Regions from separate parts of the Homo sapiens genome. Here regions 1, 2, 3, 4 and 5 are each linked to region 6. The links are contacts of gene promoters, found by promoter capture Hi-C in blood cells and fetal thymus (Javierre and others, 2016). All regions are on one chromosome and are shown on one strand. The core of a region is centred on a gene start or on the middle of the fragment in contact, and the rest is flanking DNA. Distances in the headings are between cores, read along the strand shown.

Region 1 (3,645 bases), core at 1,043-3,542, 2.9 Mb after region 6:
ACAAATCAGTGTCTTCCTAATGATGCTCTGCACTATTACTAATGTCTTGAGGGTAAAATTCCTCCGAATGAAATCTGGGAATTGCCATAGGAGTCAGTATCTCCTGAAAACAGGTGACACTAAAGGCCAGAAGTTTTAGAATATTCACAGAATTCATAACTAAGACCCCAAAAGCAAATGCAACATAAATAAATAAATAGTACCTAATTAAACTAAAAAGCTTCTGCCCGGCAAAAAAATAATCAGCAGAGTAAACAGACAACCCACAGAGTAGGAGAAAATATTTGCAAACTATACATCTGACAAAGGACTAGTATCCAGAATCTACAAAGAACTCAAACAAGAAAAAAAACAAATAATCCCATCAAAAAATGGGCAAAGGACATGAATAGACATTTCTCAAAAGAAGATATACAAACAGCCAACAAACATTTGAAAAAATGCTCAACATCACTAATTATCAGAGAATGCAAGTTAAAACCACAATGAGATACTATTTTATTCCTGCAAGAGTGGCCATAATTTAAAAGTCAAAAACCAATAGACGTTGGAGTAGATGTGGTGAAAAGGGAACACTTTTACACTGTTGATGGGAACAGAAATTAGTACAGCCATTGTGGAAAACAGTATGGAGATTCCTTAAAGAACTAAAATGTGGAACTACCATTTGATCCAACAATCTCACTACTGGGTATCTACCCAAAGGAAAAGAAGTCATTATATCAAAAAGACACATTCACATGCAAGTTTATAGCAGTGCAATTTGCAATTTTAAAGATATAGAACCAACATAAGTGCCCATCAACCAATGAGTGGATAAAGAAAATATCCTATATATACACCATGAAATACTAATCAGCCATAAAAAGGAAAGAAATAATGTCTTTTGTAGCAACTTGGATGGAGCCGGAGGCCATTATTCTAAATGAAGTAACTCAGGAATGGAAAATCAAATATTGTATGTTCTCACTTTTAAGAGGGAGCTAAGCTATGAGGACACAAAGGCCTAAGAGTGATGTAATGGACTTTGGGGACTCACGGTGGTGGGACTTTGGTGGTGGTGGGGGAAACTATGTTTGGGAGGGTGGTGAGGCATAAAAGACTACATATTGGGTACAGTATACACTGCCTGGGTGACGTGTGCACTAAAATCTGAGAATTTACCACTAAAGAACTTATCCATGTAACCAAAAACCACTGATATTCCAAAAAAATTGAAATAAAAAAACTAAATTAATTAATTAAAAAACAGTGTATAAGAGTTCCAGTGTTAACATTCTTGCCAATCTTTGATATTGTCAAGGTTTTGTTTGTTTGTTTGTTTGAGGGAGGATTTTAGCCTTTCTTTCTGTGTATGTAGTAATATGTCTTGATTATTTGGATTTGCATTTCTCTAATGCCAATGAGATTGAGCACTGTCTCGTGTAGGTTTCGGTGGTTTGAATATTCTCTTCTGTGAAATGTTTATTCAACTCTTTTTTCCACTTTTCTTCTCCCAACTTTGAGTTAGTTGTGAATTGTCTTTGTCTAATTGATTTGAAGGATTTCTTTACATAATCTGAATAGGAGTCCCTTGTCAAATACATGTATCACAAATATTTTCTCTCATTTGTGTAGCTTGCATTCTGGCTTTTTTAATGGAATCTTTTTCAGATCTTAATTTAATAAAGACCAAGTTGCCAACATAATATAGAATATCATCATGTTCTGTAAAATATGCAAAGATTTCTTTTCTTTTTTTTCTTTTTTTCTTTTGAGAGGGAGTCTCGCTCTCTCGCCAGGCTGGAGTGCAGTGGCACAACCTCAGCTCTCTGCAACCTCCTTCTCAGGGTTCGGTTCAAGCAATTCTCCTGCCTCAGCCTCCTGAGTAGCTGGGACTACAGGTGTGCGCCACCACACATGGCTAATTTTTGTATTTTTAGTAGAGACAGGGTTTCACCATGTTGGCCAGGATGGTCTCGATCTCCTGACCTCATGATCTGCCCTCCTCGGCCTCCCAAAATGCTGGGATTATAGGCGTGAGCCACCATGCCCAGCCACAAAGATTTCTGAAATAGGACACAAAAGCCCTAACCAGTATATTTAGAGATCTTTGCTTATCTCAAGTTCATGAAGACAGTTTATGTTATCTCCTAAAAACTTTATTGTTTTCTCTTTTAATTTACATCTACCATTATCAGGAGTTAATTTTTGTGTATAGCATGAGGTTGAAGTGGAAGATCTGGATATCCCATTGCCAGCACTGTATGTTGAAAAGGCCTGAACTGAAATGGCAACTTGGTCATTACTTAGGTGACTTTGAAAGTGCAGCTCTATATTCATGAGGGAAATTAGTCTACAGATTCCCTTTTTAGTAATGTCCTCATTGGTGTTTGTTTTAAGATTAGGTTGTCTTCACAGAAAACATTGAAAATGCTCCATGTTTTCCTGGTCTCTTGGAAAGTTTGTGTAAGAATGGTGCTACTTATGTGGAGGAATTCATCAGGAAAGCAATCTAGGCTTGGAGTTTTCTTTGTGGATGAATTTTAATTAGTGATTAAGTTTCTTTAATAGATACTGAACCATTCATATTTTAATTTTTTCTGATATTTGTTAAATTGTATTTTGCAAGAAATTTATCAACTTCCTTTAAATTTTTAAATTTAAAGTTGTTCATAACATTCTCTTTTAACTATTTAATGTCTGATAAATAGTACTGATATTTTTCATTTCTTATATTGGTTGTTTGTTCTTTTCCCCCACCTTGATCAGCCTTGCTAAAGATCTGTCAATTTTATTAGCCTTTGCAGACTCAGATTTTGGCTTAATTTTCTCTATTGCATTTTCTTCCTATTTCGTTGGTGTCTACTCTTTATTGTTTTTATTTCTCTGCTTCTTTGGATTTCATTTGTTTTTCAGCCTCTTAAGATTGATACTTAAGTAATTTTTAATCTTTTTTCATTTCTAATATTCACACCTAATGCTATATATTTTCCTCTAAGAATGAATCCACATATGTTGAATCCTGCATGTGTTGATATGTTGTGTTTTTATTATCACTCAGTTCAAAACTCTCTAATATCCATTATAATTTCTAGTTTGAGGCCTGGTTATTTAGAAGTGTATTGCTTGAATTCCCATCAATTAGTTAAGGGATTTTTTAGTTTTCTTTTTAAATTCTTAATTCCTTATTTTTTTTGTTAGACAATCTCATACTCGGGAATTAATTCGTATTTTAAATCCACTTTAGTCAGAGAACATGCTCTTTATGATTTCAATTTTGAATTTGGTGAGACTTACTTTAGGATCCACTATAGGGTTAAGTTTTATAAATTACATGTGCACTTGAAAAATGCATATTCTGAAGTTTTGGGAGGGGTAGAGATTTATCTATATCAATTAGGTCAAATTTATAAATTATGTTTTCCAAGTCTTATTGACTTGGAATATTTTATGCCTACTGATTTTTTTTGACTGCTTGTTATATTAGTTAATGTGATTGTGACTTTGTCTATTTCTCCTTTAAGTTGTTGGCTTTTAAATTTATATACTCTGAGGCTGGTTATTAAGCAAATAAACATTTAGAATTCTTATGGTTTTCTGCGTCATGACCCTTTTATCATTATGAAATGTCCCTATTTATCTCTCTGTAATATTATAATGCTT
Region 2 (3,595 bases), core at 821-3,320, 2.7 Mb after region 6:
TACACATATTATTTACCTGATTAAGTATATCACCTGATATACTTAATATAAAGACTTAGGCGTATATCTAGTTTTTAAATAATCATTTTAGTACTGTAATATTTCACATTGTTTTACCAAAAGTTTACCTACTTGTTATCTCTTTAAAGAACACTTTAGGTTTCCAGCTCTTTGCTATTACAAATAACATTTTTAAGGAGCATCTTTTTGCATATAAATATTTTCTTCTCTTTAGTAAAATTTCTTAAGATAAATTTACAGGAGTGGGATAAGTGTGTCAAAGAGTACAAGTGGTTTTTTAAAATTCTTAATATGAACTGCCACTTCTGAAAATTCACATTTTTTTCTATCGTGGATTATTTGTAATGAAATTTGTTCTTAAATTTCTTAGATTCCTTTTTTGTTCTTTGGTACCTTGTGGTTTTATGTAGCTCTCAGTACATAATTAAATGACAGCTCATATATGAGTAAGTAACAGCATTGGCCTAAAATCATTTCATGCATTTAGTCTTTATAATAACCATGTAAGTGTTTGTTATAATGTTACTACTCCCATTTACAAAGCCAAGGAAACTGAGGTGCAGGAAAGTTAAATGACTTGGCAAAGATTACATACTTGGTAAAGTCTTATGATTCCAAAGCCTATGCCCTAAAACAATGGCTTTCAGACTTTTTGACTGCATCACAGTAACAAACACATTCTGCATTTTGACACTTTGACATCAGCAGTGTACATACACGCACGTATGCCCATAGGATATACATATGAAAAGATTTAGTGTTTAAAAAGCTTTCCATCTTTTCCTAATACACATAATTAAAAACATTTCATATTGGGAAAACAACTGTCCTAGTGATTAGAATTCAGTGTTCACATAACTCTGAGTTAGTTTACTGGATTTACAAATAATTATATACTTATAAAAGATTAATTTGCAATACATTGCTATATCATTTGGAGCACTTCAGTGAAGACATCTGAAAAAGCAATGATGTAATAACATTTGCTGTCTCTACTCTAGCTACAGCAATTCAATTCTGAATTCTTCTGCAGTCCCTCACAGCTCAGCCTTGAAACCCACTCTTGTGAGTATCCTATGCCTTTTAGTATTATCTCTTATTTTCATGAAATAAGCTGAACATAAATGTGAATCTTCACTACCAACACGGAGGTACATCCTTAGAGGAGAACAACATCCCAAATACTTCACAGTAGTTTAGAACAGGGAATTTTTCAATGGCAATGGGTCTCCATCAGCATTATGTTTCCATGTAGAATGGAATAGAATACCAAAGTCAGCCTGTGTGTTGTCACAGTAAGTCTAAGTTGTTTTGTGAAAAGTTATGTGTGTGCGTGATACACTTACCCTTGTGACTACCAGTCATTCCCAAACAAATTCACAAGGATGTTGAGACCATGTAGGGGGTGGGGGAATAGCCTAAACATTTAAAAGTGACCAGGGTATAGTAAATGATAAATCATCATACAGGACCCATCATTTAAAAAGATATTGTTAATACTGTGTTATTTGAGCATACTTTCCTTATTGCTTTATGTTAATGAAAGTAAGGTAATTAAAAGATTTTTCACAGGTTGTGTTAAAAGTGTATGGCTTCAGTCTCTTAACCTTGTTTTCTAAGTTTTTACTGTTCATTCCTTAATAGTAACCATATCATCTTAGTTGGAGAGGGATTCCTATCTACCTCAGTACATTTTCAGTCTTTGAAATCATCAGATTATAAAGGAGTTGTAGAAACAGAAATCATATTTATAGTACTAACTTTTTTCTTTTTTTTTTTTTTTTTTGAGACAGAGTCCCGCTCCGTCGCCTAGGCTGGAGTGCAGTGGCGCGATCTCGGCTACTGCAAGCCCCGCTTCCCGGGTTCACGCTATTCCCCTGCCTCAGCCTCCTGAGTAGCTGGGACTAAGGTGCCCACCACCATGTCTGGCTAATTTTTTTGGTATTTTTAGTAGAGACGGGGTTTCACCGTGTGTTAGCCAGGGTGGTCTGGATCTCCTAACCTTGTGATCTGCCCGCCTCAGCCTCCCAAAGTGCTGGGATTCCAGGCGTGAGCCACCGCACCCAGCCAGTACTAACTTTTTTTTAAGAGACAGTGTCTCTCACTTTGTTACACAGGCTGGAGTGCAGTGGCACAATCACAGCACGCTAACCTCGAACTGTCAGGCTCAAGTGATTAATCTGTCTCAGCCTCCTGAGTAGCTTGGACTACAGGTGCCTGCCGCCATGCCCAGTAATTTTTAAATTTTTTTGTAGAGACAGGGTCTTGATTTTGTTGGCCAGCCGGGCTGGTCTCAACTCCTGAGCTCAAGTGGTCCTCCCACTTCAGCCTCCCAGAGTGCTGAGATCACAGGTGTGAGCCACCATGCCTGGCCCTTACTACTAGCATTTAATTCATTGTCTCTCACTGTTTTTTCCAAATGTTTGTTACTTTACTGAAAGATACTACCTTTGTTATCTGCTAAAATTTTTACTTCCATTTGCTGCCAGTTGGGCTTTATTAGAATTCTTTGAGAATCTAAAGCAGTGAGTACAATAGAACATTCTGTGATGATGGAAACATTCTGTTTGTGGTATCCACTATGGTAGCTACTATATAGTTATTTGGCTGTACTTGAAGTGGTTTGAGTGACTGAGGAGTTAAATTTTAAATTTTATTTAATTTATATAGCCACAAGTGGCCAGTGTTGACTGCTGTATTGGATGGCACAAATCTGGAGCATTTCTTTCTTTCTTTTTTTTTTTTTTTTTTTTGAGACAGAGTCTTGCTCTGTCTCCCAGGCTGGAGTGCAGTGGCACGATCTTAGACCACTGCAACCCCTGCCTCCCAGGTTCAAGTGATTCTCCTGCCTCAGCCTCCCGAGTAGCTGGGATTAAAGACGTGTGCCACCATGCCCGGCTAATTTTGTATTTTTAATAGAGACGGGGTTTCAACCATGTTGGCCACGCTGTCATGAACTCCCGACCTCAGGTGATCTGCCTGCCTCGGCCTCCCAAAGTACTGGGATTACAGGCATGAGCCACCATGCCCAGCCCAAATCTGGAACATTTCTATTCCTTCAAGCCCAACACCTTTTTTGAAAACTATGACATGTTCTCCATTCACTCTGCTGAAGAAAGTTTCTAATTGTTTTTTCATGGAGAGGTAACTTGAGGTAGCATAGCTTTTTCCAAAATGTGGAATTTGCCACTGGTATGTAAGATAATTTTAGTTGTTTCACAGACATGGCATTTATATTAGTCTGTTCTCACTGCTATAAAGAACCATCTGAGATGGGTAATTATTAAGAAAAGAGGTTTAATTAACTCACAGTTCTGTAGGCTATACAGGAAGCTTGGCAGGGAGGCCTCAGGAAACTTACAATCATGGTGGCAGGCAAAGGGGAAGCAAGTATTAGCAAGGCAGAGCAGGAGAGAGCCAAGTGGGAAGTGCTACACACTTCAAACAACTAGATGATCTGAGAACTCTATCACAAGAACAGCGAGGGGGTAGTCTGCCCCTCTTTCAACACATGGGGATTACATACTCGACCTGAGATTTCAGTGGGGACACAGAGCCAAACCAAATCAGCATT
Region 3 (3,576 bases), core at 504-3,003, 2.7 Mb after region 6:
CTGGAGTGGAGCCCAAGGGCCTGCATTTCTAACAAGCTTCCGGGTGAAGCTTTGCAGCTTTGAGTGGCAAGGATATGCAATATTAAACATGAACACTTAAAACATTTTTTTGTGTGTGACGGAGTCTCACTCTGTTGCCCAGGCTGGAGTGCAGTGGTGCGATCTTGGCTCACTGCAATTTCCACCTACTGGGTTCACGCCATTCTCCTGCTTCAGCCTCCCGAGTGGCTGGGTCTACAGGCACCCGCCACCATGCCCGGCCAATTTTTTGTGTTTTTAGTAGAGACAGAGTTTCACCATGTTAACCGGGATGGTCTCGATCTCCTGACCTCGTGATCCGCCTGCCTTGCCTCCCAAAGTGCTGGGATTACAGGCGTGAGCCACAGCGCCTGGCCAAAACATTTTTATATGCGGGGTGTGGTGGCTGACGCCTGTAATCCCAGCACTTTGGGAGGCCGAGACAGATGGATTGCTTGAGCTCAGGAGTTTGAGGCCAGTCTGGGCAACATGGCGAAACCCCCTCTCTACAAAATACAAAAATTAGCTGGGCATGGTGATGGGTGCCTGTAGTCCCACCTACTTGGAGGCTGAGGTGGGAGGATTGCTTGACTCTGGGAAGTGGAGATTGCAATGAGCTGAGATTGTGCCACTGCACTCCAGCCTGGGCAACAGAGGAAGAAAAAAAAAAAACCCAAACTAAACAAACAAAAACCATTTTTTAACAAAATAAACCAGTCAATGAATTTATGCTTCCCAGTATAGATATGTTCTGTAGGTTTATCAAAGACTTATACATCAAAGATAATTATGAAATTATCCTCCCTTTTACCCTTAGTTAATGGCAATGAAGAGATGATCTACAGTGCCCCAGTTCACACTAATAATGTATTTGAGAGCATAATCCTTGTTACATGTCTACTTTAATAACAAGATAACTACTTTTGTTATTTACAGCAACACATTTGCACATTCATGTGTCTAAGAAAACAACCCGTGATGACAGAAATGTTTTATATCTAGATTGTTCAATATGATAGCGACTAACCACTTGTGGCTATTGAGCACTTGAAACATGGCTAGTATACCTGAGGAATAAACAGCCACATATGGCTAGTGGTTACCATGATCATCGATATCTGCTAGCATCACCCAAAGACAACCAGATGTTATTTGCCTTCTGATTGAAGTAGTCCTCCTATCAAGGCTCTAGATTTAGAAACCAATTTACAAAAGAGACTCCAGATGTCCCCAGACCCTACTCTAAGAACTGATGGTATAAAGGAACTTACGTACCTGAGGCCCACAAAAGGCAGCTGATAATAGCCAAGGAATTTAATTCTTTCGTTATCTAAAAGTAGGACTCTCCTGTTAAATCATTATCCAAAGTAATAATGACTTGAAAGTCTATCCCACCAAATATCCCATCTTTGAGAAATTATAATATTGAAACATACACACATACACACCCACACACACAGAATTTTGAAGGAGGGGATGAAACGGGGTTGAGCTCTAGCCATGCCTTTACTATTGTGTAACCTCTGGGACCTCTCTGATCTTCAGTTTGCAAGTCTCTTTGTAACCTGGAGTTAATAATAATACCTACTGGGGAAGGGTGTTAGGAAGGTAAGTTCCTGAAGGGCAATGTGTATTTCAAATGTAATCCTGTTGTAATCCTATACCATGGTTAATTAGTACTCATTAAAAGGGAAAGCAATGCCATATTTAAAGCAAAATCCAAGGAACCAACCTAGAATCTTTTGTCATACTAAATTTGTGTTGCACGTGGCCTTGGATTATTTTATGATGGGTATTTCAGTCCTTCATATTTGTTGTAGTGGGACATAACCGTTAAAGAATGAGCATGCTAAAGCCATTTGGGAGAATAATGGTAAGTGCTTTATTTAGTAGTGTGGGGTCTGGTAAGCATCCTCCCTGCTAAGATTATACAGAAAATAAAGGAAATTGCAGACTGCTCATTTCCCTTGTACTCATCCTAATCTTGTGGAAACTTCCTGTAAAAGGCAGTTATAGCATTAAAAGTAAACTGATTACACACTCACCGGATACTGCCAAACCAACAATTGCCGTCCTTAGGGAAAAAAGGAAAACAGCATACTTATCCTTTATACTTTGCATTAGTTTGGAAGAACATGGGAATCCTAGTGATGGGGAAGCAGACTCATGCCAGAGGCAAGGAAACTATTTAGAAACATGGTTACCACTTAGTAATTCCACTGAGAGGCAGGGCTCATTAGCCAAGAGACTGGTTAAACTAAAGAAAAAAAATCATTTATTAAACAAAGTACATGATGAAAATAGGAAGTTCCGATTGATCAAGGCACACATTAACTACAGTTTTAAAAAACAAAATTTTAATAACATCTGCTAAGGAGTAATGTTAAGGGTAATTTTAGAAATGGAAATATGCACTTGTATTTTATGTACTTTTAGAACCTCATATGTTGGCATGGCTGTCTCCTCTTTTGGCTTCTCAAGAATACAAATATCTGATGAGAGCTTCTGGTGCAAGGCACAGTGTATGTGAAATGCTAAACTGCAATAGTATTAAGTCCCAATAGTAAGCCAGAGGGGATTCCTGATTTCAACTCCAGTGCCAGTCAGTATAGCTTCATTTTTATATATAGTCAAGGCTCTGGTATAGTATTTTACCTAAAAAGCCTCTATTACTTACGACCACTGCTAAAAAGGATGCCAAAAAATATAAAGGGCAGCCCCTACCTTCAAGTCACTAAAATTTAATTGGGAAAACAAATATAAACTCATAAAAAATGAATCAGCAAAAATAATAATTATCAACACAAGTATAAACAGCAAAGGCAAAAATAAAAGAATCTGAGAAGACCAATTCTGAACTCATAAGAAAGATGATTACTATGGGCTGAGCAATGTGAAAAAAAGAAAAGAAACTTTGAATAGGAAAATAGCATGCCATCTGCCAGTGTCTCAGTGAGGACAGCCTACTTTTTGCTGTCCTTGTGAATAAACCCTGGCCTGATACCTACATGGAACTCAGAATCCACTTGTACCTTCTTAACTTGGATCATATCCTATACTGGCAATTACTTGGCAATTGTTCTCTTGTTCCTCCCTCTTTGGCCCATGGATCCTATTGATAATTAATTACCTCGAACAGGTCATTAAATGGTTGTGGCTAATTCCTAAAGCTGAGGACAATAATACAGATAGTCACTTGTGATAACCAGCTATTGTGACTAGCTTCCTTCCCACAGGGCTACCTAGAAAACACAACTGAGCAAATATAAGTATCTCCTTTCTTGCTGAGCCCGAATGTGGCCATAGAATTCTTCTTGATTAGTACCAACTGAATGGAGTTGGAGCTTAAGACAAAACTGTGATCTGTATTTAGCTTCTCACATCTGGCTGGATCCCCTTTCCTAACTGAACTATCCCTCTGGCCTTGACCAGTGTCTATCTAAGCTTATGATATACCACTGGCCACCCTTTTTTGTGTTTAGCTGGAACACAGCTTTCAATCACGGATGTGCTGGGAGACAGGATGACAAAAATGGTTTTAAGGAAAGGGGGAGTAGA
Region 4 (3,703 bases), core at 742-3,241, 2.9 Mb after region 6:
CGCACCCAGCCAGATCTAACAGTTCACTTGACGCAAAGTAAACTAATTTGAATTCTAAACATATAACACGACTGCCTACATAATTACATTATGAAATAAAGATAAGCAGTGAGGGTTAATTAGATGGTTGCATTTATTTTCTGAATATATAGAAATATAGTAGAAATGGATCATTTGCTCTGAAGTGAATTAATAATTATAGCCATAATAATGCTTTTACTATTTCAGTTGTTAACGTAAGCTTCGTGATCACACATTTAAGGATTTAATGTGAAAATTTAGAATTGAATGTAAAATGGAAATAAACGAGTAGATTTTATAGTATTGGATTATATGGTAAATGCTCAGTAAATGTTTTATGATTTTTCTTTTTTAAAGGAAGAGATGATCTAGAGAGCTTCCAGCTTGAGATAAGTGGCTTTTTAAAAGAAATGGCATGTCCATATTCTGTACTCATATCAGGAGATATTAAAGATCGTTTAAAAAAGAAGGAGGACTGTTTGAAACTTCTATGTAAGTTATCTTGAACATTTAAATGCATGTGTTTGACATGGTTTTTATTATTTTCAAGTCAAGATTTATTAATGAAGCATTAGACATTTTGTATATTAAAAGGGTTTTAATATTTTACTTAAAATACAAAGCTATCTCAGAAATGTTTATATAATATAGTATAAATTTTACCAGTATGCCTTCTAACACTTGTGATTTATTTGGCCAATATAGAATGTCCTGTGTTTGTGATTTATATAGTACTTTAGTAATTTTTCCTTTATCTCATTCTATCTGTTATTGTTCGTGACTATATGGCTAACATTGATGATCTCCAAAGTCCTATTTAATCTAAAAACTCTCTGAAACTAGGCACTGGATGATAATTTGTTGATCACTTACTCTAACACCAAGAACTGCTCTGGATACTAGGGATATATGAGGGTTGCTTGTTTTGTTTTTTTTTAAAAAATATAAAATTTGTGCCTTTAGGACACTTTAAATGTGGCCAGTTTCATCAGGGAGGGATTTGGAATATAGGTCATACTGTATTCAAACAATTACCATAAATAGTAGGTCCATGTTTGTGTTGGGTTCCTTTCATCATTTTTTTACTTTAGGCTAATTTTATAATGTTTTTAAAGTTCTACAAACAATGACTATTTGAAAGAATTTTTCTAATACCTTCTATTATTGAAGATTTCTATTTCAGATCATGCCATTTATAAAAAGATTACACGTGACATATTCCTCCTAGGCGCTAGTGTTTTAATAAAGTTTGTTTCATTAGAGATGAAATTTGTGTGTGTGTGTGTGTGTGTGTGTGTGTGTGTGTGTTTAGTGGTGACAAAAGTATTGGCATTGAAATTACCTTGTGTGTGTTGAGTGGGGATAAAAATTATATGCCCTCTCTCTCCATCCCAATACACCATTCTCCATCTTCCTCCCATTTGGTGTGAGTCACTGATTTAATGAACCACTGTTATTGGGAGATCACAGTAACTCTTAGGTATATTGGGACAGAAAGGAACCTAGGAAACACCGGCTAGAGGAACTTGCATATCCTTAATATCAGTCAATGAGAATTATGTAATCCATCATGGTTCCCTTTCTCCTTAGCTGCTAAGAAGCTTAGCAATTGTAGTGATACAGGTTTCTGGTACAAGTAGGAATAAAAAAGAAATTTAACAGAAATATATAGTTTTTTTCTGATTATAAAAATAACATGTTCAGGAGGGCGGTGATGAGGAGTTAGTGTTTAATGGGTACAGAGTTTCAGTGAGGAAGACGAAAAAGTTCTGAAGATGGATGGTGACGTCATAGAACTGTATACTTAAAAATGATTAAAATGGTAAATTTTATATGTGCAAAAATTACATGCTTATCATAGAAATCTTAGAAAATACATAAAACATAAAGAAGAAAAGCATTTATAATCTCACTCCCTAGAGAGAATATTGTGTCTCTGTTTTCTGTGTACATACACACAACACTCTCACACTCGCACTCACTCTTAAATAAGATTAAGATCCTGTTTCAGATCCTTCTCCTCCTCCTCTTCATTTGATGTGTCGTTTTTCTCTTTATTTCCCTATCACTTGTTTTTTGAAAAACTAAATTGGCTCTGCTATTGACATAACATTATGTGTAATAGATTTCAAATTTGGAGGTATTTGGATTTTTTTCTATTTTAAAATGATTTCCTTGTTTATATTTTTGCTTACTTAGACAAAGATTAGGAACATTTAAAATAGTCTCCGGTCTAGATGTATATTGCCATATTTTGCTCCAGAAAGGTTATACTAGTTCACAGTCTTACCAGCATCTAGTCTTTCTTCAGTTTGACTGTTTTAATCATATTGATATAATAAGCTTCTTCATGTTCTTTTTGAAAGTGTTTGCAACATGTATAAAATTAAAAGGGCCAAATCCTGTACTATGTAAAGAGCTTTTATAAATCAACAGGAAAAAGATAAAAATCCACTGGGAAAATGTGTAAAATACATAAGACATGAACACGCATTCTACAGAAAATTTTTTTTTAACTGCTTCTAAGCATGACAAGATGCACAATATCACTTATGACAGGATACCATTTTTCACTCAAAAAATCATAATAGAAGTTTGGGGGAGTAAGCCTTTTCGTATACTACAGACATTAGACTGTGGTGGGAGAATAACTTGTACAGCCTCTTAGGAGGACACATTTTCAATGTCACATTAAAATTCACTTGGCTTTTGGACTTGGCAATTCTTTTGACTTGGCAATTGTTTGTCTATGAATATATATCTATTTCCCCAAGTGTACAAAGATAAATGAAAACCATGTTCATTATGACATTGTAGTAATAAAAAGACCAGAAACCTGAGTGTCCATAAATATAGATAAATAGAAGTGGTACATTAATGCAGTGATGTCACTAGATAGGTAATAGGAAGAATGCAGATAAATCAAATGTGCTGATGTGGAATGATCTCTAAGATATGTTGGTAAATACAAAATAAATATACAGGACATGTATAGCATGTTCTTGTTTGTATAAAAGGAACAAACGCACACAGATGGCTACTAGGTATCTTGAATACATACACACACACATGCCTAAAAGGATACCCAAGAAATTAATGGTGATTGCCTCTGGGAAGGGGGAATCTAAGGATCTGCAAAAGGAAGAAGGCTTAATTTTCCCTCTACTGCTTACTATCTGCATGGATTAGCATCGTAAATGCTAAACCCTTGTTTGTACTATTACATGGAGAAAGCATGTTTCCATAGAGCAAAAGTAGACTTCAGCCAAGGTTCTGTCTAAAATATAAATTTTTGAAAAACTGGCAATCTGTTTTAATCAAGTTTAATCAAGTTTTTATTATGAGATGGGGTCTCACTGTGTTGCCCAGGCTGGAGTGTGATGGTGCGATTGTAGCCCCTCAAACTCTGGAGCTCAAGCGATCCTCTCATCTCAGCCTGCATAACTGGGACTACAGGCGTACACCACCATGCCTAGCAAATTTTTAAAAAATATTTTGTAAAGATGGGTCTGTGTTGCCCAGGTAGGTCTTAAACTCCTGGGCCCAAGCTGTCCTCCTACCTTAGCCTCCCAAAATACTGGGATTACAGGCCTGAGCCACCATAGCTGGTCTTAATGAAGTTTTTAAGTCAGAAGGACCTTAGTATAGTCCTCATAAGGAAAGTTTAATATTGGTCTTAAAG
Region 5 (3,548 bases), core at 949-3,448, 2.5 Mb after region 6:
CTTTTACTTTTTTATTTTCTTTTCAACAGAATTTGTAAGTCTCAATGTTCTACCTCTTTATGTTTGCTTTTCCCTAGATTGTATCTTCAACCCCTAGCACAAACCTTGGCATATAGGAGACATGTAATAAATGTGTTTCCATGATAAGCTTGAATCAATTAATAAAAGAGGAAAGTAACGTGCCTTGTTTGAAACCTCTCTTTAAGGCCACAGGTCTTGTCCTGCTGTATTAGAAAAGGCTGTTCTAAGAAAAAGGACTGAGTTAGAATGAAGTACATCCTTCACTCATCTTACAAAACCCTCTTTAAATTTCTTTAATACATAACTTGATGTAACACTGCAGAACTCTATAACTAAGTTAATGGCAATTCCAATTTAATAATTTTATTTATCAAGAAAGCTATAGGAAATAAAATCTTTCCATTACAGTAACAATTGGTTTGTCTATTGTACACTTCTTAAGGGCAAAAATTAAAAAGCATGTTTAAGGGAAAATAAAAGTTAGACATTTCAAGAAAATTGATATACCGTGAACCTCATCTTTCTATATGATGGTTTTCATATTCACTCGAAGAATGGGATTTAACTCTCTTCTCTCTCTCTCTCATTGTCTCTCCCCACCTCTCTCGCACGTGTGCGCGCTCACACACCCACACCCACCCACACACACAGACACTGTGGTACTTTAGTCTCATTAACAGGTGCCTTTCAGCTACTTCCTTTTTCTAAAACAAGAAGTATTGAGTCAGCAACTTGGCCAGGGGGAACTCAAAACAATGTCTATTAATAATGAAGACTTCCTAATGTTGGCAAAATCTGTTTCCCCTTTAGAAGACTGAGAGAGCAAGCTACTAAAAGTTAGTATCCCTCACGAAGTCAAAGAGATTTAGGAAAAGCTTTCTAGAAGTCTTGATTTAGTTAAAATTTGGGCCACATATTTTGGGACAGAGCCCAGAGTTCTTTATGTTGGCTGTTGATAGAGGCAGCTTCCATTTCAAGATAAAAACTAACAAATAATTAAAATGTGTTAAATATTTACTGTGTTCTAAGTATTGTGATAAGCTCTTGTATGAACTTATTATTTGACCCCAACAACAGCCCTGATAGTGAAGCTGGGAGTGGAGATCTGGTCTTTCTGATTTAAAGGAGATGCTCTTTGCTGTTACCTTAAACTGTGTTCATCTGAAGTCCCTAATTTAGGATAAACGTGGGTGAGACATGGATGGAGTCTCTATTCTGAAGAACTTGCATTCCACAAATTTCTCATTGAGAGAAGCAGAGAAAGAGAATGCCAGTTTCCCAAGATGTCTCAGGAATAGGATTCAGGGTTTGGGATTGAATATCAGACAAACCTACATATTCCCTCCCTCTGCTTACATTGTAAGGTGTTGGCTCATTTCTGAAAGCAAAGGCATTTAAACTATCTCACGGACAACTCACTCTGGCCCAAACCACCACATTCACTTGAAACAAGAAGTGTATGCAGTGGTTCAGGGTGACCCAGCTAAGAGCAGTCCCATTTAAAGCTATTAAGTGTGGTTTCTTTTTCAGTGAGGTCATCCTGTTTAATCTCTCTGAATTGAAACAGCCTATAAAGCAGCCTCTCAAAAAGCTTATCTCAATTTGTTTCTGGGTGGACTAGAAGCTTCAACTTTTTAAGAGTGCCTTCTTAAAGTGAGGAGGAGGAAGAGTTTGGTAGCAAGAGGAAGGACTGGTAAGAAGGACAAAAGCAGTAAAATGTAGTCACATGGAGAAACTACTGAAGGGATTGCAAAAGGACACAGAAAGAGGTTGGGAGCACAGACAAGGAGGAAGTTTGAAGACTCCCTGTCCATTTTCTCACCATTCAGTAGATCTGTTCTTGCTTAGAACCAACTGTAAGAAAGAGAAGATATAGGAAGAATCACATTTCAGAGAATGTGTTTCCATATCCCACCATGGAAAACTGCCCACTGCAGTTTCAGCTTGTTTATAATGCATCACAGTGATGCCTTCCTGGAAACATGTATAAAATAAAAGGTATATGTCTTATTTAAAATTCTCTATTGACAGGTTTCTAAAATCAGAAACTTTGGGCGGAATGGGGAGGATGTGAGTAGTAATCTCACTTGAACATGCCCTCCAGGTAAAGTTAGAGGACCAGTGGCTTCTATGCCTTTGTCTCACCCACACATCTCCAGCAGGAAAAGACAGTCAAAGCCATGTGAGCGTCCTTCAATTCAGACCACCAGATAAAAATAGATCTGTATATTCTGATTGCTCAAGTGAAAAACAAGTTGCAGAATAATATGAAGAGCATGATATCATTTTATCTATATGTATCTGTCTATCTGCTTTGTTTATTAACAGCAAATTTCCCAAGGAACTTTGTTTTTTTGATAGTTACATTTAGGGATCAAGATATTTGGGGGTGGGAGAGAGGAGACGAACTTTTTATGTTTATGAACTTTTATACTTTGGTCACCATAAGAATTCCTTCCTTTAATATTTTTGTATTTTTTAAGTTTCACAGATGAATCTGATCAGCCCAAATTAGGAAACACTGTAGACAACTGGTTGTTAGTTTCTATCAGTTTAGTAGCCATTAAGTGACTGTTTAAACATTTGTTCATTGACTCTGTGATTCTCTCAGGCTCACTGTTTTCTGTAGCTTCCTTAGAAGTCTTGCTCCAGAATATACGTGCATTCAAGATGGGACATCCTTGGGGTAGCACCAGTCTACCAGGACCAGCCTTGGAGCTCTGCAGCACAGAAGCTTCTCAAATTCATTGCACCAACAGGTCCACAGTTCCCCACATTGATTCAGCAGCAGTGTGGCCAGATCCAGGAAGATGATACTGAGAAAACCAATATGGTTTGCACGGGTGAATTCAATTAGCAAATATCAAAACCATTTGTCTAAAAGCGTCCTGCTTGTTCCCTCTACAGAGATCAATATGCCCTGTTAGCATCCAGGATGGAAAATAATATCCAAGAGCAAAACAAATCTGTGTCAGCATTATAATAGTCTCATCTTTTTCATTCACCTAAAAGCAAGAAGAGCCCCAGGCATAATTGTTAAGTACCTTAAACTTGTGTTCAGGTCTTTCTAATCTCCACTTTCCAAGCCTTTCTCATCCTCTTACTGCCAGGTGTTATGCTGGAAACCGAACTCCGTGTCTGTGCCCTGGAGTACCCAAAATTGACATTGGAAGGGAGCAGGAATTCTGCAGCACCCTCCCATGACTGCCTACCATGAAGAATGTTTAAAACTATTCAAGCAGCCGGATCATTTGAGGTCAGGAGTTCAAGACCAGTCTGGCCAACATGGTGAAAGCCCATCTCTACTAAAAAAAATACATAAAAAATTAGCGGGGCATAGTGGCATATGCCTGTAATCCCAGCTACCAGGCAGTCTGAGAAGGGAGAATCGCTTAAACTCGTGAGGCAGAGGATGCAGTGAGCTGAGATCATGCCTCTGCACTCCAACCTGGGCAACAGAGTGAGACACCATCTAAAAAAAAAAAAAACAGAACAAAACTATTCAAAATTGCTGCACCCAGCATCAA
Region 6 (3,727 bases), core at 502-3,001:
ATGGGTGCAGCAAACCACCGTGGCACATGTATACCTATGTAAAAAAACTGCACGTTCTGCACATGTAACCCAGAACTTAAAGTATAATAAAAAAAAAATTTAAAAAAGGAAAATAATCTTCTTAGAAAGATATGTAAGAATCCCAGTTTCACTTATTCACTTATAATACATAATTATATATAATGCATATATATAGAATACATAGGCATCTGTATCATAAGCATACAGGTAAATGCTTACGTATTCATACTTACAGCATATGTCCTTACAGCTCTTACGCTTCAGCAAGAATTTTCCAACATTGCTTTTTTAGCAAACTTTTTTTATTATAAAGCAACATATGCACATTACAGGTTATTTAGTGTAACTGACTCTACCAATCTTCTCTCCTCCCCTCCAATACTTCTAAGTCTTTGTTTGTTGTGCTTTACTTTAATCGTTAAACTTTTGGCAAGCGATGTAAATTTGAATTATTCACTTCCTGGGGTACTTTTAATTCTTAAAATAAGACACAATGGTTAAAGCTTAATCATTTATGTTACAGAGGACATTTACTGAACAACAATAATTATTGTGACATTATGGTCTAGTCTCCTAAAAATGACATTGAAGGAAAGGGAACCGGAATATTCCAGACACTACAGTAGGTCTGAAATCTCATATCAAGTCCTTAATAGGTCAAAACTTACAGCCAGTATCAATTACCTAAGGGACTTAACGAAAACGTTTATGAAATCTTCAATTGGATTACAAAAGCAAGCACATCGTTGCACTGTATCTAAGACACTCTACAGGGCAAAATCTCATGAAACAAGTATTTAAGTAGTCTAACTTTTTAATGTTGCTAGTGTGTTCCCTTCTGCCTCAGTTTATAGATTGAGTATGGAAATATTTAAGCAGGTTTGTTTTTGGTTTGTCAGTCACAGGACTTATTTAGACACTTAAATTTATGATTTGGTTACTACAGACATCAAACTCCTTTTGGAATACGGAGTATAGGGTAAGGTCACTCTAAAGCAATGATGAGAGTCCGAAGCAACAGCAACTGGATCTAGCATAAGACTAGTACAATTCGGTCTCTACCACGAAGAGAGATCTCTGTACTTGAGTGCCCAAAGGCAGAAACACACACATGCCATAAGCAATCCACATCTGTGAAGATGAGGGAGGGGTGGACTTCTTGGGATGGGCGGAAACACTTACAACTAGGGAGGAAGCCAGGCTGCGGCGGACCCAGCTGACCAAAGGAACTACAGAAGAGGACGAAGAAAGCGAGGGGGAAAGGGCGAGGGTTATTAACTGAGTTGATGGAATAAGGTAGTGGCTCCAAACTTCACGGCTCATTAGAGCTTGAAAAAAAAAAATCAGACGCCGGGTCGCACAGAAGTAATTAAACCAATCCCTCTGGCGGTGGGGCCCAGGCGTCGGTACTTTTTTTAATTTCCCACTTGAATCCAATGGGAATCCAAGTTTAAGGGCTAGAAGACCAGAGAGCGACAGACAGGGAGGAGGCGCGCCAGCCAGGGGCCGAGGCACATGCGGGCCGGCAACAGCGAAGGCTCCGCCTCTTCCTGTGGCTCGGAGGAGCCGCGGAACCCCCAACGCGCGACTCAGACGGAGACACCCACTCTTTCGGCGCTAGCGGCGGCTGGAAGGGACGAGAGCCTGGCCTAGGAGGAAGGAGGCGGCTCCAGGACCGCATTACCTGATCAGAGCCGCGACCCTCATGCTGGGCGCAGTGCGCGTGCGTGCGGCGAGCGCGGGCGGGAGCCAGGAGGTCGCGCCGCAGCTCGCGTGACGCACCGCGGGGCCTCGCCCGGGTGTTCGCTCCGCCGCCTGTCCGCGGATCGGCGCTGCGAGCCCCGCGGCTGCCTGCGGGACACCTGAGCGCGGAGGGTGCGGCACCTTGGCACCTTGACCCTGTGGCAGGGACATCTCGGCCCAGGAAAGAATGAGGTTTAGGCACGGCCTAACCACCTAAGTGAGGGCACTGAAGCTGCCGGGGGAAGGGCAAGGTCCGCGTTGCAGAGCCCAAGCCCAGTGGCGCAGGATTTGTTTTGGTAAGAGGGGATTTAGCGTCCCAATTGCTGCAAATTGACACAGTTGCGGACGTGCAAGCGCAGAAGAAATTTGTCCTTCCTCACCCCACAGAACAGAAACAACTGTACACTTCTGCTTTTTAACTTACATCTCCTCTGTCCTCCAAACCTGTGTGTCCAGATGTGAAACTCAGATCCCCAGGGGCTGTGGTAATTTTTAAATCTGGGGCTAGCCCCCCCCACCTCTAGGCCCTCTGTGGCTTTGGCTCTTGGTCAAGCTTGTGTATTTGACAAGGCCAGGCCAGGCTCTTCACCAAAGAGCAATGGCCTTGCAGAAAGAAAATCTAGCTTCTAAGTTTATTTGCCAAGTATGTATTGAGTGCCTTTCGTGTACCAGGCACTGTTTTAGACTCTGTGGATACAACCGTAAATAAAACAAAAACCCGGCATTCCGGGCATAGAGCTTAAATGGGGATGGAGAGAACAGACAATACATATCTTAAAGGTAAATAGTCTGTTGAAGAGTGAAAAGTGCTATTGGAAAGGGGCGGGGTGCGGTGGGGGAGAGTCAGGAGAGAGGTGGAGAGGCAAATTGCAGAATTAAATCGTGTCTATGTAGGCCTTATTGGTAAGATGAGAGTTGAGCCAATTTAAATAAGGAGAGTTCGCTATGTGTATGATTGGGGTGTGCTCCAGACAAGAAAAAAAAATCGAAGGCTCTAGGTGCGTTGTGTGTTTGTGGAAGATTAAGGCAGATCCGTGTTGCTGGAGCAGATTGAGCAAAGCAGAGAGTAGTGGAGAGCAGGTTAAGGTGATGGAGGGGAAGGATTATATAGGGTCTTGTAGGTAATTGCAGACTTTTGAAGGGTGTGACTTAAAATTTTAAAAGGATTGCAGTGTTGAGAATCCACCTATTAGGAAGCTGTTACAGTGTTCCAGTAGAGAGATGGCGGAGCCTAGAATCAACATGGTGAATTTGGTGAGAAGTAAGAGGATTCCAGCTCTATTTTGAAGATAGAGCCAATAGAATCAAATTCGATATGGGATACAAGAGAAAGAAAGTCATGAGGGATGATGCCAAAGGCATGAATTAAGTAAGTTAATATATGTAGGGAACTTAAAATTATGCCAGGTACATAGTAAGCATTCAATTTTATTTTGACATTCTCAACTCTAATAGTAGGGGTGACTAGAGCAGTGACAGTCTACATATCAGTTTTAGCGTCTAGAATCATACAGCTTTAAGATTTTGCAGTTATGAATATTTACCAAATGAGTCAAGTATTTAAGAAGTTTGCAGTCTAATTGGAGGAGATAAATACGTGAAACACACTTAAAATGATACAGCTCCAATGAGTGGAAGAAGCACCAGGGCTCTCGTCTCATGCCGAATTGGGTAAAATGACACAGACACACATGGAGTGGTTTTAAGGGGTGGAGAATTTAATAGGCAAGAAAGAAGGGTGAAGAAAGGAAGAAGCTCCCCTGTAGAGACACATGGAAGTGGGCTCCAAAGCCTAGAGAGGAAACCCCCAGTGCTGGGGTTAACAGGCAGTTATATGAGGAGACTGGAAGAGGCGGTGTCAGATTTGCATAGGGCTCAGGGGATTGGTTTGACCAGGCATGTCATTCACATAGCCCACGAAAAACCTGGCTCTCCCACCCTAGCCTTTTAATATGCAAATGCA

Evidence for each region. The method cuts DNA at HindIII sites, captures the fragments that hold promoters and counts their contacts. A CHiCAGO score of 5 or more calls a contact.
Region 1: a contact is called between a fragment that was not itself captured here and the fragment with the promoter of DPH6 in region 6, in 5 of 17 cell types (naive CD8 T cells, total CD8 T cells, total CD4 T cells and 2 more). The highest score is 8.0, in naive CD8 T cells.
Region 2: a fragment that was not itself captured here is called in contact with the fragment with the promoter of DPH6 in region 6 in 6 of 17 cell types (total CD8 T cells, naive B cells, total B cells and 3 more); the score reaches 10.4 in total CD8 T cells.
Region 3: a contact is called between a fragment that was not itself captured here and the fragment with the promoter of DPH6 in region 6, in 9 of 17 cell types (total CD8 T cells, naive CD4 T cells, total B cells and 6 more). The highest score is 10.4, in total CD8 T cells.
Region 4: a fragment that was not itself captured here is called in contact with the fragment with the promoter of DPH6 in region 6 in 2 of 17 cell types (naive CD8 T cells and total B cells); the score reaches 8.0 in naive CD8 T cells.
Region 5: a contact is called between a fragment that was not itself captured here and the fragment with the promoter of DPH6 in region 6, in 1 of 17 cell types (total B cells). The highest score is 7.8, in total B cells.

The regions. Positions count from the first base shown.
Region 1 is chr15:38,447,196-38,450,840 of GRCh38, forward strand. No RefSeq gene overlaps it. Among named protein-coding and RNA genes, the nearest start is that of FAM98B, 5.1 kb to the right of the region's middle. The HindIII fragment of the contact is 4,148 bases long and covers 219-3,645 here.
Region 2 is chr15:38,267,152-38,270,746 of GRCh38, forward strand. All of the region lies in intron 1 of SPRED1 (sprouty related EVH1 domain containing 1), which reads left to right. Among named protein-coding and RNA genes, the nearest start is that of SPRED1, 16 kb to the left of the region's middle. The HindIII fragment of the contact is 2,564 bases long and covers 789-3,352 here.
Region 3 is chr15:38,245,493-38,249,068 of GRCh38, forward strand. No RefSeq gene overlaps it. Among named protein-coding and RNA genes, the nearest start is that of SPRED1, 5.6 kb to the right of the region's middle. The HindIII fragment of the contact is 3,413 bases long and covers 48-3,460 here.
Region 4 is chr15:38,464,891-38,468,593 of GRCh38, forward strand. FAM98B (family with sequence similarity 98 member B) reads left to right here. Exons shown (of 8, transcript NM_173611.4): 3 at 379-513. Among named protein-coding and RNA genes, the nearest start is that of FAM98B, 13 kb to the left of the region's middle. The HindIII fragment of the contact is 742 bases long and covers 1,621-2,362 here.
Region 5 is chr15:38,084,608-38,088,155 of GRCh38, forward strand. No RefSeq gene overlaps it. Among named protein-coding and RNA genes, the nearest start is that of LINC01852, 13 kb to the left of the region's middle. RefSeq lists a silencer at 1,408-1,467. The HindIII fragment of the contact is 1,110 bases long and covers 1,644-2,753 here.
Region 6 is chr15:35,544,414-35,548,140 of GRCh38, forward strand. It overlaps DPH6 (diphthamine biosynthesis 6), which reads right to left and starts at 1,752. Exons shown (of 9, transcript NM_080650.4): 1 at 1,706-1,752. The coding sequence starts at 1,728. It overlaps DPH6-DT (DPH6 divergent transcript), which reads left to right and starts at 1,782. Exons shown (of 3, transcript NR_038251.1): 1 at 1,782-2,060. RefSeq lists enhancers at 753-1,687, 3,675-3,727 and silencers at 1,735-1,874, 2,175-2,224. The HindIII fragment of the contact is 1,793 bases long and covers 523-2,315 here.